Linked DNA regions of Homo sapiens: regions 2, 3, 4 and 5 are each linked to region 1. The links are contacts of gene promoters, found by promoter capture Hi-C in blood cells and fetal thymus (Javierre and others, 2016). All regions are on one chromosome and are shown on one strand. The core of a region is centred on a gene start or on the middle of the fragment in contact, and the rest is flanking DNA. Distances in the headings are between cores, read along the strand shown.

Region 1 (3,082 bases), core at 157-2,656:
CTACATGGGGGCCTGACCCGGCCTGAGTGCCCCCTGAGTTTCCTCCCACGAGGGTATCCCGGATCCACACTTATTCTCAGCCTCTGGCTCATCTCTCCTGGGGCGCCCTCACCCCACCCGCGGCCAGCAGGGCCTGAAGCATCAGGGGCAAAGGGCACGGTCCTGGAGAAGGTCGCAGCAGCGGGACCCAGCCTCCCTTCCTGAATCTGAGGGTGGAAGAGCTGGGACCGTCTGGAAGTTCCTGGGAAGTCGGGGTGGGGGCGTTTCGGGGCCAGCGGGACTGGTCGTTGGAGGAGCAGTGGCCTGGGAGAGGCGTGGGAGAGCATCACAGACAGCAACAAAGAGACACGCAGAGGCAAAGAGACACGCAGAGACAAAGAGACACGCAGGCGAGAGACTCTGAGATCCTCCTGAGAGAGATACAGAGGAAGTGAGGGAGACACTCATTCATTATCTGGGCATGGTTGCAAGCGACTGGAGTCCCAGCAGCTACGTTCAGCCGGCTGAGATGGGAGGATGGCTTGAGCCGCGGAGGTCGAGACTGCAGTGACTTATGATGTTGCCACTGCACTCCACTCTGGGCCACAGAGCAAGATCTTGTCTCAAAAAAAAAAAAAAAAAAGAAATTCTTACATTGCTGGGGTTTACTGTCTGCTAAGGACACAGCCCAGAAACACCATTAATGAGTAAATCACTTTGTCGTCAGCGATAAGGGTGGGAGAGAATCGGTCGGGGGAACACGGAATCCAGGGGGTGGGACAGGAGAGACCCTCCTTATCTGAGGAGCGGCAAGTTCCCATCACAATCCTGCCCGGGCCCGCCCCACCCCCACTCGCCCTGAGCCGGGGGCGGGAGCGGGAAATTGGGAGGGGCCTGTGCCCGGGAGCAGCGGGAACCTATCTGCTGGTGGGAGAGGACTCAGGCTAAGGTGGCCCCCACTGAAGACTCCTGCTAAGCAACCCACTGAAGACCCCTCCGAATCATCGACGGGGCGTCCTTGGGGTGCAGCCCAGGAAGCTCAGTTCACAGGTGGGTGGGCAATGGGAGGGCGCAGTGCCCGGACACCCAGGACAGAGGAGACCCCTCCGCTGGGGAGAAGAGGCTCAGGCTGCGACCGCCCTGCTGCAGAACCCTCCCTTTCCCGCCTCTCCGAGTCCTCCCACCGCGATGGAGCGTCCCTGGGAGGACAGCCCAGGCCCGGAGGGGGCAGCTGAGGGCTCGCCTGTGCCAGTCGCCGCCGGGGCGCGCTCCGGTGCCGCGGCGAGTGGCACAGGCTGGCAGCCATGGGCTGAGTGCCCGGGACCCAAGGGGAGGGGGCAACTGCTGGCGACCGCCGGCCCTTTGCGTCGCTGGCCCGCCCCCTCGCCTGCCAGCTCCAGCCCCGCCCCCGGAGCGGCGTCCGCTCACTCGGTTCAAGGCAGCGCGACTGCGGGTGGCGCACGACCAGGGCGCAGAGTGAGTGGACTGCACTGGACCTTTGGGGGCGCTGGGCTGGGCCTGACCCGGAGGGGGTCGCCCTGGCGGCCACTTTCCCGGTCTAAAAAGGCGCACCACTCCTTGCAGGGAGTTCTCCGAACTTTTCCTGGAGGCCTCTGGGGAGGGGGAAGCTGGGGGCTCCCCAGCTGGGTGCAGGACCTGGGATACGGGGTGAAGGTGGCTGGAATCCCCTGGCCACCCCCTCCTGGCCGGGCCACTGCAAGTTTCCATACTTCAGTCCTGCTGCCGGGCAAGCTGGGCGGATGGGGTTGGCCTCCCCCTCAGAGCATGTGTAACCCTGTCTCCCTGTATTTGGGCTCCCCACCTCCAGCATGGGTGAGCCAGCGACTTCCTGTCTATGTTTGCCTGCCTTGATTCTCTGTGTGTGACTGAAGCTCTCTGGGATGTCCGCATCCCTGCCTTGTGCAAAAGAGATCCATTCCCCTCCCCAGGCCTTGGCTTTCTCATCTGGACTTGCATGGGGACTATTTGTGCATGGATGTTTGTGTGGGAGCATGGAAACCTTTGCGCCTGCTTCGATACGAAGCATTTCTTTTGAGCTTCAGTTTTCTCATCTGTAAATTAGGACTAAAGGAAGTGGGGATTAATAAGGTCACAGAGGCAGGTGAGGAGTGTTATTACAGTTTAATGACATGTGTGCCCCTCTGTAAGAGTCTGTTTGCCTCTTGTGGATTCTCTCTCCTGTCCTCAGGCTCTGCCTTAGTAAAATGAGTGAATAGGATCAACTTTTTTTTTTTTTTTTTTTTTTGAGACGGAGTTTCTCTCTTGTCACCCAGGCTGGAGAGCAGGGGTGCGATCATGGCTCACTGCAGCCTCGGCCTCCCAGGCTCAAGTGATCCTCCCGCCTCAGTCTCTTGAGTAGCTGGGACTATAGGGGCATAACACCACACCTGGCTAATTTTTAAATTTTTTTGTAGAGATGAAGTCTTAGTATGTTGCCCAAGCTGGTGTCGAACTCCTGGGCTCAAGTGATACTCCCACCTCGGCCTCCCAAAGTGCTGGGATTACAGGCGAAAGCCACTGTGCCTGGCCAAGGAGCAACTTTCTCATGGGGTTTTGGGTGGATGAGGGGGTTTTGGCAGGAAAAAGCTTTGTATGCAGTGAGACAAGAGTGTGGAGTGTGGTGCACTGGGCCCCAGGCTAGTGTGAGTGGAGGTTGTGAAATTGTGGCCTGTGCCACTGGGTGGGAGACCCTGTATTCGTGTGACTGAATTTTGGTCGCTGTGTTTTTCTGCCTGCGTCACTCTGTTCCTGTATGATGTATTTTTTAGTTTCCCTGATAGTGTGTGACTGTGTGTTTTGCCCTTGTAGTGTGTCGCTGTATTTGTGTGTCTCTTTCTGTGTGTGTTGCGTTTGTGTGCGTTCTGTGTGTTTACTGTTACGTCTCTGGAACTCCCTGCTTGTGTGTTTGTGTGTGTGTGTTTGAGACAAAGTCTTGCTCTGTTGTCCTGGCTGGAGTACAGTGGCACAATCAATGCTCACTGACTGCAGCCTTGACCCCGCGGGCTCAAGTGATCCTCTCACCTCAGCTGGGACTCCACTGAGTAGCTTGGACTATAGGCATACACCAACACGTCCCGGCTAA
Region 2 (3,082 bases), core at 350-2,849, 510 kb after region 1:
GCGTGTCTGCGCTTGTCCAATTGCATAAAAGCTCTATTTGACCTCATGGGGGCCTCTTCATGCTGGAGGTGGGGGTCCCAGCACGGTGAGGGGGGCCTCTGCCTCATCCCAAGAATGGCAAGAATCCACCCCTTCCTCCCCAGTGGCTGTGCGTTGCTTTGCGACAGGGACAGATTCCCACCACCTCCCACCAACGCGCCGGCCTTTTTTTTTGAGACAGACAGAGTCTTGCTCTGTTGTCCAGGCTGGATCGCAGTGGCACAACCTCAGCTCACTGCAACCTCCACCTCCCGTGTTCAAGTGATCCTCCCACCTCAGCCTCCCAAGTAGCTGGGACTACAGGCGCCAGTCACAATGCCTGGCTAATTTTTGTATTTTTAGTAGAGATGGGGTTTCGCCATGTTGGCCAGCTGATCTCTAACTCCTGGACTCAAGCGATCTGCCCGCCCCAGCCTCTCAAAATGCTGGGATTACAGGCATGAGCCACCGCACCCAGCTCAGACTCCCTCATTTGGTGGGGATTTGGGATTGAGGCCGGGGCATCCACTGGAGACCTGAGTTGGGGCGGGGGGAGATGAGGGTTAGGGATGGAGATGAGACCCTTTATTTGAGGAATCAAGAATTTGGGGAAAGTGAAAACTGTGTTTTGGGATCTGTGGTGAGAATTTGGGACCAGGACACGTGACTTAGGGATTTGAGTGGACAGATGAAGGTTTGGAGTAAGGCTGGGGACCCCATTTTGGGATCTGGGGTGAGATTTGAGGTGGGATGAGGACCCGTTAGGGACTTGAAGGAAAGGCTTTGGGGCTGAGGCTGGTACCTCCTATTGTGCAGCTGAGGGACTGAGGATAAAGCAGGTAGGTGAGTGAGAGTTCGGGGTGAGGTTGGGACCCCAGTTGGGGGCCTGAGTGAGGCAGAAAGGACTTGGTGCCAGGGGCGGTGGCTCATGCCTGTAACTCCAGCGCTTTGGGAGGGCAAGGCCGGAGGATCGCTTGAGACCAGAAGTTCAAGACCGGCCTGGGCAGCATAGCAAGATCCCGGTCTCTACAAAATATACATATTTTAAAATTAGCTGGGTGTGGCAGTGTGTGCCTGTGGTACCTGCTTCTCAGGAGGCTGAGGCAGGTGGATGGCTTGAACGCAGGAGTTGGAGGCTGCAGTGAGCTATGATTGCACCACTGCACTCCAGCTTGGGTGACAGATCAAGACCCTGTCTCCAAAATAAAATGTAAAAATAATAGAAAATAAAAAAGATTTGGTATAAAGCTGCACCTCCTCCTAATTCTAGGGCCTGGATGGAGGCTGAAGTCTTGAATGAGGTTAAGGTCTCCTTTGAGGGGATCTGCTAGGCGGAAAAGGTTTGGGGTAAGACTGGAACCCTCGAACTCTAGGGCTGGGTGGGAGTGACCCTTCTCCTCCACAGTGGGGTGGGGCAGGAACAACCCAGCTCCTGGCGCTGGGCTCCACCCCAGCCAGCCAATCAGCCCTCAGCACAAAGTTTCCCAACTTCCCAGTCCAGCTGTCAGCGCTCCCCCTCCAAAAAGCCCCGCCTGGCCAGGCGCTGGAGCGCAGGGCGAGGCCAGGGCGGGGTCTCGGGCAGTTTCCCGCGGACCCTGAGAGGAGCGGCCGCCGCGAGTGACTGCACCGAGCCCGAGAAGTCGCCGCGCCCCGCAGCCGCCCCGACTGGTTCCCCGCCTTGCCCGTGGGCCCCGCCGGGATGGGGAACCGCCGGGACCTGGGCCAGCCGCGGGCCGGTCTCTGCCTGCTCCTGGCCGCGCTGCAGCTTCTGCCGGGGACGCAGGCCGGTGAGCCGGGAGGGAAGAGATGGGACCCAGGGTCCACGACTCAGAGAGGCTCTAAAAGAGCGAGGGGTGGAGGGGGGTGGAGGGGCGTGGAGGGGAAGGGCGTGGGCGCCGCGTGCGGCCCCGGTGTGATGTGGGCGCATGAGTATCTGACTCTGGGTGATTTGTGGGTGTGACAGCTCGGGGTGGGGGTGGGGATGTGTGAGTGCGTTTTCTGGCGAGCGCGTGGGAATGCATGCAATGTGCAGGTGTGTGCATGTGTGTATGTGTGTGTAGCATGTGTGTGCATTTGGAGTGAAGTTGCGTATGTGCTTGCGTGTGGAGGTTGATGGTGATAGTGTGACTGTGAGTGACAGGGCAGTGCTGGGACGGTGTGTATTGCGACAGGTGAGTATGCACTTGTGCTCTTGTCTATGTGCTGATTTTCGAGGGTAACCGTGTGAGTGGTTATGCGTGTGATTGTGTGTCTCTGAGTGCCGCTATGAGGGGTGTAGTTATGATTTTTGGGTGCAAATAATTGCCCATGAGGATGAAGGTGGGTGGGGACAAGTATTGGGGGGTGCTCTTCGGGAACCCACAGTTTCCTTTGCGTCTCTTTAAATGGCTTCACCTCATTCTCCCTTTTCCTCCTCTGCCCCAAATTGGCGAGCGCCCATCTCCTCCCCTCCCTCCCTGTTGCCCCCTCCCCCACCCCGCGGTCCCCAGAGCCGCGATCAGCACCATGGACAGGGCTTCGGGGAGGGCCGCGGTGAGGGGCGAGACGGGGCGGGGCGCAGGGCGGGGCAGGAGTGGAAGTTGCTCCCCCCCTCCCCACCCCAGCTGCTGGAGCCTTGGGTGTTTTTCCCGAGGAATTTCTCAGGAGCCCCCAAGGGGTCCCGGGGGCCGCCGGATGGGTGAGTCAGCGCTGACGCACGCCCAGCTGCGCGCATCTGGCTGGGCGCCCTGTCCCGCCCCTCAGGGTTCAGAGTGGGGGGCGCTTCGGGAGTCAGGGGATGGCGTAGCTTCTCAAGTGTTGGAGATGGGGCTTCCCTGATCTGAGAGACCCTAGACTAGGTCCTCCTGGAAATCCCTTTCTAAGGTGAGCTCAGTCTCCCAACACACACACACACACACACACACACACACACACACACACACACCACAGCACACTTCTTACTTTGGAGTCCAGGAAGGTGCCTGTCCATATGGTTAATCCCTGATTGGACTATGCCGCATTCCCACGCTCACACATCCACATGGTCATGGAATCTTAGGCATCCACTCTGAATATAAGTCCCCTG
Region 3 (3,082 bases), core at 57-2,556, 410 kb after region 1:
GTAGCTGGGATTACAGGCATGGGCCACCACACCCGGCAAATTTTTGTATTTTTAGTAGAGACGGGGTTTCACCATCTTGGCCAGGCTGGTCTCGAATTGCTGACCTCGTGATCTGCCCACCTTGGCCTCCCAAAGTGCTGGGATTACAGGCGTGAGCCACCGCGCCCAGCCTTACATTTTTATTTCTAATTATAAAATCCAGATTAATCCAAAAAACATAAATCACATGTAACTGAGGTAGGGTTTTCACTTTAAGAATATATTGTTTCTATCACAATTTAAAAATTTACAGCTGTGTCTTTTATATTTATTTTTTATTTTAATTAATTAATTCCTCACTTTATTATTATTTATTTATTATTTATTTATTTATTTATTTATTTATTTTTGAGATGGAATTTCAGTCTTGTCGCCCAGGCTGGAGTGCATGCGGTTGCTCGATCTCGGCTTACTGCAACCTCCACCTCCTGGCTTCAAGCAATTCTCCTGCCTCAGCCTCCCGCGTAGCTGGGATTACTGGCGCATGCCACCATGCCCAGCTAATTTTTGTATTGTTAGTAGAGACGGGGTTTTAGCATGTTGGCAAGGATGGTTTCGAACTCCTGACCTCAGGTAATCCACCTGCCCCGGCCTCCCAAAGTGCTGGCTTTCAGGCATGAGCCACTGCACCCAGACTTTCGCTGGGTGTTAATGTGTGCGTGCGTGCAAATGTGTGTGTGTGTGTTTGTGTCCACTCTGTTATGTGCCCATATGTGTGTGACAGCTGTGGTGTACATGTGTGAGTTTCTGAGTCAAGCTACCTTGGCTGGCTCCCATCCTGGTCTCTTTTTGGCTGTGTGACCGCAGGCAAGTTGCTTACCCTCTCTGAGCCTCAGTTTTCCCTGCTGTAAAATGAGGGTACATACAGAATCCAGCTCAGGTTGTAAGGATCAAATACGTAAAAGGTGTGGAGAGTTTAGAGCCAAGCCCTACACACGGTAAGTCCCCAGTGATGTTCCTCTTTCTATGTGTGGTGTGTGCGTGTCTGGGGCTGGGATCACGCCTGGCTGCCCCAGGGCCTGCAGCCTCCCACGCTCTGGGCTCTGCAGTGGAGGGTGTGGGGGAAAGGGAGGGATGTCCAGGACACTGACCTGTGTTATCAGGCTCTGGTGGCCTGGGCAGGGGGGTCTGGCAATTCTGTCTCATTTCTCATTCGGGAAATGCTAAATATTTATAGTTTGGGCTCCTGGGCCCAGCATCCCAGCTCCACTCCCAGGCTCTGGGGGCTGGGGAGTGGTTACCAAGCCTCCTCTCTCCTTCTGTCCCACTGCCCTCTCCCCGTCTCTAGCTCAGAGGCCCCACTGGACCCTCGGCTCTTCCTTGGACTTCTTGTGTGTTCTGTGAGCTTCGCTGGATTCAGGGTCTTGGGCATCAGAGGTGAGAGGGTGGGAAGGTAGGTGGAGGTTGATTCTCACTGTGGGGAAACTCCGACCACAGCTTGGCTTGGGGGCCCCCAGGCCACCCCGCCACCCCAGGCTGAGAGTGTAAAAGGCAGCGGGTGTTATACACACGTCCCAGTTCTGGGGGGTTGCTCAATCTCTGTTGTGGGGGGTGGGGCATGTCAGTGATCGGGGACAAAGAGAGGACCCTACCCCCGGATCCTTGTGAGCCCCTGCTTGGTGTCTGAGTCCAGAAGTAAATGTGGCCATCTCCAGCCCAGAACCCTCCATGGCTCCTGCCTGACTCAGAGTAAAACCCAAGTCCTCCTCCGGGCCCACAGGACCCTTCACACTTTGCCCTGACACTTCTTACCTCCTCCTGCTTCCCCCTTCTCTCTTCCGGCCTCATAGACATTTCTGCCATTTCTTTTTTTTTTTTTTTTTTTTTTTGAGACAGAGTCTCGCTCTGTCACCCAGGCTGGAGTGCAGTGGCGCGATCTCAGCTCACTGCAAGCTCCGCCTTCCGGGTTCACGCCATTCTCCTGCCTCAGTCTCTGGAGTGGCTGGGGCTACAGGCGCTCGCCACCATGCCCGGCTAATTTTTTTTTTTTTTTTTGTATTTTTAGTAGAGACGGAATTTCACTGTGTTAGCCAGGATGGTCTCGATCTCCTGACCCCGTGATCCACCTGCCTTGGCCTCCCAAGTGCTGGGATTACAGGCGTGAGCCACCGCACCTGGCCTTTTTTTTTTTTTTTTTTTTGAGCCTTGCTCTGTCGCCCAGGTTGGAGTGCAATGGCGCAATCTCTGCTCACTGCAACATCGGCCTCCTGAGTTCAAGTGACTCTCCCACCTCAGCCTCCTGAGTAGTAGCTGGGATTACAGGCATGCATTACCATGCCCAGCTAATTTTTGTATTTTTAGTAGAGACGGGGTTTCACCATGTTGGCCAGGCTGGTCTTGAACTCTCGACCTCAGGTGATCCTCCCGCCTCGGCCTCCCAAAGTGCTGGGATTACAGGCGTGAGCCACCGTGCCTGGCCCCTTTCTGCCATTTCTTGGGTGCAATCTCCGGGCCTTTGCACCTGCTGTTCTCTCTGCCTGGAATGCTCTTCCTCTTCTCTCTCTTCCATCAGGTCTTTGTGAAAGTGTCCCTTATTCTTTATTTTATTTTTATTTTTATATTTAGTAGAAATGGACTTTCACCATATTGGCCAGGCTGGTCTCAAACTCCTAGGCTCAAGCAATCCTCCTGCCTTGGCCTCCCAAAGTGCTGAAATTACAGGCATGAGGCACTGTTCCAGTCAAGTGTCACTTCTTCTGTGAGGCCTTTCCTGACTCCTCTATTTTATTTTTTTTTGAGACAGAGTCTCGCTCTATTGCCCAGGCTGGAGTGCAGTGGTGCAATCATGGCTCACTGCAACCTCTGCCTTCCGGGTTCAAGTGATTCTTGTGTCTCAGCCTCCTGAGTAGCTGAGACTACAGGCGCGTGCCACTACGCCTGGCTAATTTTTGTATTTTCAGTAGAGACAGGGTTTCGCCACGTTAGCCAAGCTGGTCTCAAACTCCTGGCCTCAAGTGATCCTCCCACCTCAGCCTCCCAAAGTGCTGGGATTACAGGCACCTCGGCCTCCCAAAGTGCTGGGATTACAGGCACCTCGGCCTCC
Region 4 (3,082 bases), core at 583-3,082, 400 kb after region 1:
GTCTACTAAAAACACAAAAATTAGCACGGCGTGGTGGTGGTCATCTGTAATCCCAGCTACTCGGGAGGCTGAGGCAGGAGAATCACTAGAACCCGGAAGGCAGAGGTTGCAGTGAGCCGCGATTGCGCCGCTGCACTCCAGCCTGGGCGACAGAGTGAGACTCCATCTCAAAAAAAAAAAAAAAAGTTGTTTTTTAGAGATGGGGGGTCTCACTATGTGTTGCCCAGGCTGGTCGAATTCCAGGGCTGAAGTGATCCTTCTGCCTCAGTCTCCCAAAGTTCTGGGATTACAGGCGCGGGCCACCACACCCAGCTAATTTTTGTATTTTTAGTAAAGACGGGGTTTCGCCATATTGCCCAGGCTGGTCTCGAACTCCTGACTTCAAGAGATCTGCCCATCTTGGCCTCTCAAAGTGCTGGGATTACAGGCGTGAGCCACTGCGTCCGACATTGTCAAACGTTTTTTGTTCATTATCACCCTTCTTAGGAGAAAACCCGAATTATCCTAAAATTGAATTTACATCAACTAAATTAATTTCAATTTAATTACATTTAATATCTCCCTAAAGGCAGAAACTAAATACTTAGGGATAAATGCTGTCTGATAGAGCTGGCTTTGGAAGACCACAATATCTAAGATTTTTTTCCTCCCTGAGGACCAGTTTTTTCCCCTGGGGAGTCATCATGAATCACTTCGACTGAGGACGGTTGTGCTTAGAGCAAGGAGCTGAGCAATAAACAAGTAAATGCACAAAATTATACCGGAAAGCCAAGAATGCTACAAAGAAAAGAAGAGGGAGTGGCTGAGGGGAGGCCACTTGGCATCTGAATCATTGGGATCGGGAAAGAAGACAAGGAACAGTTTAAGCAAAAGGATTGTTTTCCCCGAACTTTGGTTTCTTTTTTCTTTCTTTTTCTTTTTTTCTTTTTTAGAGACAGGGGTCTCACTATGTTGCCCAGGCTTGTCTCAAACTCCTGGCCTCAAGCCATCCCCACGCCTTGGTCTCCCAAAGTGCGGGATTACAGGCAGGCGCCACTGCACCCAGTCTGAGCCTCAGTTTCTTCAGCTGTAAAATGGAAGTAATATCCTCCTCACCATGCTTCATATACAATAAGCACTCAATAAGTGAGCTTTATGATTATTATTATTTATTTTAATTTTACTTATTTTTCTGAGACGGAGTCTCACTCTGCAGCCCCAGGCTGGAGTGCAGTGGTGCGATCTCGGCTCACTGCAGCCTCCGCCTCCTGGGTTCAAGCGATTCTCCCGCCTCAGCCTCCCGAGTAGCTGGGATTACAGGTGCCCACCACCACGCCTGGCTAATTTTTTTTTTTTTTTTTTTTTTGAGACGGTGTCTCGCTCTGTCGCCAGGCTGGAGTGCAGTGGCGCGATCTCGGCTCACTGCAACCTCCGCCTCCCGGGTTCAAGCGATTCTCCTGCCTCAGCCTCCCGAGTAGCTGGAACTGCAGGCACGCACTACCACGCCCAGTTAATTTTTGTGTTTTTAGTAGTGACGGGGTTTCGCCACGTTGGCCAAGCTGGTCTCGAACTCCTTACCTCAGGTGATCCGCCCGCCTCGACCTCCCAAAGTGCGAGGATTACAGGCTTGAGCCACCTCGCCTGGCCTATTTTAATTTTAAAGGTTAATAGGACCAGCCCTGAAATCAGCCTCTGCCCCCGCTGGCCCTACTCTGGTACCAGCAGCGCCCAGTAGCATACACAGCCGCGTGCGCCTCCACCTCCGTCCGCAGGTGTCGCTGTGGGTGCCGCGGCTGGGCCCCTCTAGGCGGCGACGGCGGCACCGGAAGTCTCGTTTTCGCCCGCTTCCGCTCTCTGGCCGGGCTTGGGCTGCGTGGAGAATACTTTTTGCGATGCCTACTGGAGACTTTGAGTGAGTCGGCGATCGCGGAAAGGGGCACGGGAAGCGGTTGGGGTGCTCTGGGAAGTATTATGGGGCCTGGGTACGCCGAGGCTGCGGGAGCCGGGCCTGGCTGACTTAATCTTCGTTCCCCACACATTTGTTTCCGCAGTTCGAAGCCCAGTTGGGCCGACCAGGTGGAGGAGGAGGGGGAGGACGGTAAGTGTACACGGTCGCCCGGGGTATTCGCGGCCAGGCCCAAGCCGTGTGACTGCCGCCTGCTTCCATCTCCCAGTCTGGCACCGTGTACCCCGTCACGGTCTGCCCCTGCCCCGCGCCATCCTCCTTGGGACCCGCCTGTTGCCAACTCCAGGTGTTCCCCGGCGGGTCCCTCTTCCTCCCATGCCACTGCCTCCCAGCTGTTCCCCTCCAGGGAGGAAGTTGTAATCTCCCGTCTCCTGTTTCTCTACTGGCGCCTGGTTGGCTTCATGGCCTGGCACCCACCTTCCTACGAGGGATCTCCCATCCTTGCCACTCCGAGTCCCCACAGGGCCATCCCAGTGCGTTGCCTGGCCAGCCCTCTGCCCTTGGCCTGCCTTTCTCCGCTTTTGCTGTAGGCGTCATCCCAAAAGCCCTTCCATCGCAGCTGGGGAGCTCCTGCCCCTGGAGCTGACTCCTCCTTCCTACGCTGCCTTTTGCAGACAAATGTGTCACCAGCGAGCTCCTCAAGGGGATCCCTCTGGCCACAGGTGACACCAGCCCAGAGCCAGAGCTACTGCCGGGAGGTGAGTGAGGACTGCCGGGAGGTGAGTGAGGACTGCCACTCGGTGTCCGGGCTGCCTCTCCCTCCAGCCCTGCCGCTCCTGATCCCCATGACCCAGGGCTCAGTCTTTCTCTGTTTTTCCCCTTCTGCCAGCTCCACTGCCGCCTCCCAAGGAGGTCATCAACGGAAACATAAAGACAGTGACAGAGTACAAGATAGATGAGGATGGCAAGAAGTTCAAGGTGAGGGTGGGGGGTGCAGGGAGTGGGGACCCTTGTGCTTGGGGGCCCATAGACCGGAATGGGGTGGGGTGTGTTGAGGAGGTTGATAAAGGAGATCCCTTGGTCCCAGGAGCCTGACCCTTCTCCCCTCCCATCCTCAGATTGTCCGCACCTTCAGGATTGAGACCCGGAAGGCTTCAAAGGCTGTCGCAAGGAGGAAGGTGAGGCTCTTCTTCCCCA
Region 5 (3,082 bases), core at 242-2,741, 350 kb before region 1:
GAGACGGCACCCTCGGACAGCAGACACAACTCCTTTAGTCCACGTTTTCAAAGTCGAGGTGCAGGGAAAACCCAGTGTGAACGGACTGCTCCTCGGGCTTTCCTTTAATCGGGCCGTTTCCAAAGTGGCAAAAAATTCACACAGGACCCAAGCTAGCTAGAGGCCTCCTGAGGGGTTCCCCAGGGCATCAGTGCAAGAAGCCCTGAAAGACAAAGCCAAATGACACAGAGTAGCAAAATGTGAACAAGGAATCAAAGAGAAGAGATAAGAAGGAGTAACAAGAAGAAGAATGAACTACAAAGACTGGGAGCGGGGGTGGGGGGTGCTGGCAAACGCATTTGTGATTTTCTTTTCCCCCCAGTGAAATGTCAGTTTTGAAAGCAGCTTCGGAAAATGTAACCAGCTTCTCACATCCCCCAAAAGAAGATGGGAGGAGGCTGTTAGCTCTTACTTCGAAGCCCGGCATCAGGAAGGGGCCCGTCCCGTCCACGTTTCCACGAGGAGCTCACCCTGCGGCTCCCACCGTCCCCGCATGGGCCCTCTCCCCAGATCCTGAAGTTTCCCATTCGGGGGTCCTGAACGCCACACCTCGCACAGCGGTGGAACTCGGTACTCGCGGGCGCCCCAGACCAGCAAACACTTTCCAACCGTCCTGAGCTATCCAGGGGGTCCCCAGAGGGATCCCGGGCCGCCCACGCCCCACCCTCCTCCCTGCAGAGGCGGCCACGCCCGCCCCCGAGACGCCCACCTCTCCCGCACCCCGGACCTCCCTCCCCCACGCTTAAGCCCACCACGCCTGGCGTCCTCCAAATTCCCCTTCCACTCAGAGCCCCCCACTTCCTGCTCACCCACCCCTCCCAAATCTCAGGCCCTTCACTCCCCATTTCGCGCTCCCTTGCTCACTCTGGGCACCTTGCCCCTCCGGCCACCACGCACGCCCTCTTTTCTCTGTCTGTCCCCTGGCACCGGCCCTCCACGGTCGCTCCCTGCAGGCCACCGGCTCAGTCCCGGGGACCCCACGCCAGGCCCCCGCGCTCAGGGCCCCTCCCCGCCGGCCCCCGCCCCGGGCCGGCCTCGTGAGCAGCCCCGGCCCTGCGCCTGCCCCGGGGCCCCGTACTCACGGCTGTAGAGGGCGATGCCCGCCGAGTCCGGGCCGGCGCGCACCTCGAGGCGCAGCGCCTGCTGCTCCGCGTGCCGCTGGATCTCGCCGTTCGCGTCGCCGATGGTGAGGAGGCGGGCGCCGGGGAACACCGACACGGTAGCGCAGGGCCCCGCGCCGCCCGGGACCGCCGACCCCGCGCCGCCCGCGCCCGGCCCCACCGCCGCCGCCGCCGCTGCCATCTTAGATCCGGCTCCAGGCCCCGCCGCCGCCGCCGCTGCGCCCGGGCCCAGGCCGCCGCCGCTGCCGCCGCCGCCGCCGCCGCCGCCGCCGCCGCCGCCGCCGCCGCCGCCGCTGCCGCTACCGCCGCCGCAGCCGCCGTGCAGGCCGAGGCCGAGCCGGGCAGCGCCGCCTGCCGGCCACGCGCCGCCTCGCCGCCGCCGCCGCCACCGTCGCCGCGGCCCGGCCCCGTGGCGCAGCGCCCTCTGCCGGCCGTCCTGGGCGCGGGGAGCTAGCGAGCGAACGAGAGGGCACCCCGTGGGGCGGGACCGGCTACGCCCCGCCCCGCGAGAACGGTCGCCGCTTTGTGAGGTGGCTCCACCGCCCGGGAACTGCGGGGCGGGAGGGTACGTCGGGGGCGGTGCTCGGGCGCGCGGGCACGCCCCTCGGAGGCCTGGGCCCCGCCCCCAGGCCGGCGCCTCATTAACGGCTGCTTTCGAGTGAGGCGGTGCGGGGACGGCGGGGGCGGTGCTCGGCCGCGTGGACACGCCCTGTACCCCGCCCCACACAAGCAGCCGCGCGTCGTGATGCGGCTTCCCTGCCCCGACCTGGACACGCCCCTGAGACTGGGCCCCACCCCCCCGGGCCCGCCCGGCTTTGTGAGGCAGCCCTCAGGGAGGCGTGGCCCAGCCGCGACGAGGCCCCGCCCCCGTGCCTGCCCGCGCCCTCCCACCCGGACTCGCTTTGTCAGCCGCCCCGCTCTGGGGAATGGGCGGGGGAAAGGGCGTGGCCAGCGCCCGGGCCTCGCCCCCAACCCTTCCCCCCACCGCCCCCGCACCGACGATTTCCGATGAGCCCTGGCCTCCAGGAGCAACCTGAGCCCGGTTGAAAGGACCCCTCCCCGACATTCGACCGCTCCTCCTCCCTTCCCCATCATCTCTGCCCACATTGCCTTCTTAATCCTTAATGTTTGACTGTCTCCTTTCGCACAAGATATCCTTTGACCCCCTCCTCTCTCAGCCCCTCCTCCAACGATGCTGAGTCCAGCCTGGCCCGGCGCAGGGCCCCTCTCCCGCCACACAAACCCGTCTTCTCTCTGCATCCCCCTTCATTTTGGGTGGCCCCATCTCTTTTGGGCGACCCAGTGAGCTTGGGCCACTTCCTAGCACTCCAGCTTTAACTCTTCCCTAGACCTCATTTACGCCTCATTCCTTTTTTTTTTTTTTTTTTTTCTTTGAGACGGAGTCTCGCTCTGTCTCCCAGGCTGGAGTGCAATGGCTCGATCTCAGCTCACCGCAACCTCCGCCTCCCGGGTTCAAGTGATTCTCCTGCCTCAGCCTCCCGAGTAGCTGGGACTACAGGCATGCTCTACCACGCCCAGCTAATTTTTTATTTTTAGTAGAGACGAGGTTTCACCATGTTGGTCAGGCTGGTCTTGAACTCCTGACTTCAGGTGATCCGCCCGCCTCGGCATCCCAAAGTGCTGGGCCTACAGGCATGAGCCACCGCGCCCGGCCCCTTTTGTTTTTTGAGACAGGGTCTCACTGTGTTGCCCAGGCTAGAGTGCAGTGGTGCCATCATAGCTTACTGCAGCCTCAACCTCCTGGGCTCAAGCAACCCCCTGCCTCGGCCTCCCAAAGTGCTGGGATTATAGGTGTGAGCCACTGCGAGGGGCCCTCATTCTCCTTCATGTCCCTCACCCGTAGCCCCTGTCATTCCACCTCCTAAACCCTCTAATGCAAGTACCGTTGCAGAGACCCTGGC

Evidence for each region. Contacts are between HindIII fragments. The CHiCAGO score rates a contact against its expected background, and 5 or more counts as called.
Region 2: a contact is called between the fragment with the promoter of COL5A3 here and the fragment with the promoter of S1PR5 in region 1, in 6 of 17 cell types (naive B cells, fetal thymus, total B cells and 3 more). The highest score is 8.3, in naive B cells.
Region 3: a contact is called between the fragment with the promoter of ANGPTL6 here and the fragment with the promoter of S1PR5 in region 1, in 3 of 17 cell types (total CD4 T cells, non-activated CD4 T cells and activated CD4 T cells). The highest score is 10.9, in total CD4 T cells.
Region 4: the fragment with the promoter of EIF3G here is called in contact with the fragment with the promoter of S1PR5 in region 1 in 8 of 17 cell types (activated CD4 T cells, naive CD8 T cells, naive CD4 T cells and 5 more); the score reaches 10.7 in activated CD4 T cells.
Region 5: a contact is called between the fragment with the promoter of CARM1 here and the fragment with the promoter of S1PR5 in region 1, in 1 of 17 cell types (neutrophils). The highest score is 10.6, in neutrophils.

The regions. Positions count from the first base shown.
Region 1 is chr19:10,515,771-10,518,852 of GRCh38, reverse strand. S1PR5 (sphingosine-1-phosphate receptor 5) reads left to right here and starts at 1,406. Exons shown (of 2, transcript NM_030760.5): 1 at 1,406-1,455. RefSeq lists enhancers at 1-61, 2,929-3,082. The HindIII fragment of the contact is 9,669 bases long and covers 1-2,588 here.
Region 2 is chr19:10,009,021-10,012,102 of GRCh38, reverse strand. It overlaps COL5A3 (collagen type V alpha 3 chain), which reads left to right and starts at 1,599. Exons shown (of 67, transcript NM_015719.4): 1 at 1,599-1,805. The coding sequence starts at 1,718. The HindIII fragment of the contact is 8,603 bases long and covers 1-3,082 here.
Region 3 is chr19:10,100,902-10,103,983 of GRCh38, reverse strand. It overlaps ANGPTL6 (angiopoietin like 6), which reads left to right and starts at 1,306. Exons shown (of 6, transcript NM_031917.3): 1 at 1,306-1,416. RefSeq lists enhancers at 1,127-1,176, 1,247-1,296. The HindIII fragment of the contact is 11,381 bases long and covers 1-3,082 here.
Region 4 is chr19:10,118,649-10,121,730 of GRCh38, reverse strand. It overlaps EIF3G (eukaryotic translation initiation factor 3 subunit G), which reads left to right and starts at 1,832. Exons shown (of 11, transcript NM_003755.5): 1 at 1,832-1,891; 2 at 2,031-2,077; 3 at 2,560-2,643; 4 at 2,775-2,863; 5 at 3,004-3,063. The coding sequence starts at 1,872. RefSeq lists enhancers at 1,574-2,329, 2,330-3,082. The HindIII fragment of the contact is 4,736 bases long and covers 1-3,082 here.
Region 5 is chr19:10,869,962-10,873,043 of GRCh38, reverse strand. CARM1 (coactivator associated arginine methyltransferase 1) reads right to left here and starts at 1,491. Exons shown (of 16, transcript NM_199141.2): 1 at 1,122-1,491. The coding sequence starts at 1,341. RefSeq lists an enhancer at 42-221 and silencers at 962-1,171, 1,262-1,311, 1,442-2,231. The HindIII fragment of the contact is 21,723 bases long and covers 1-3,082 here.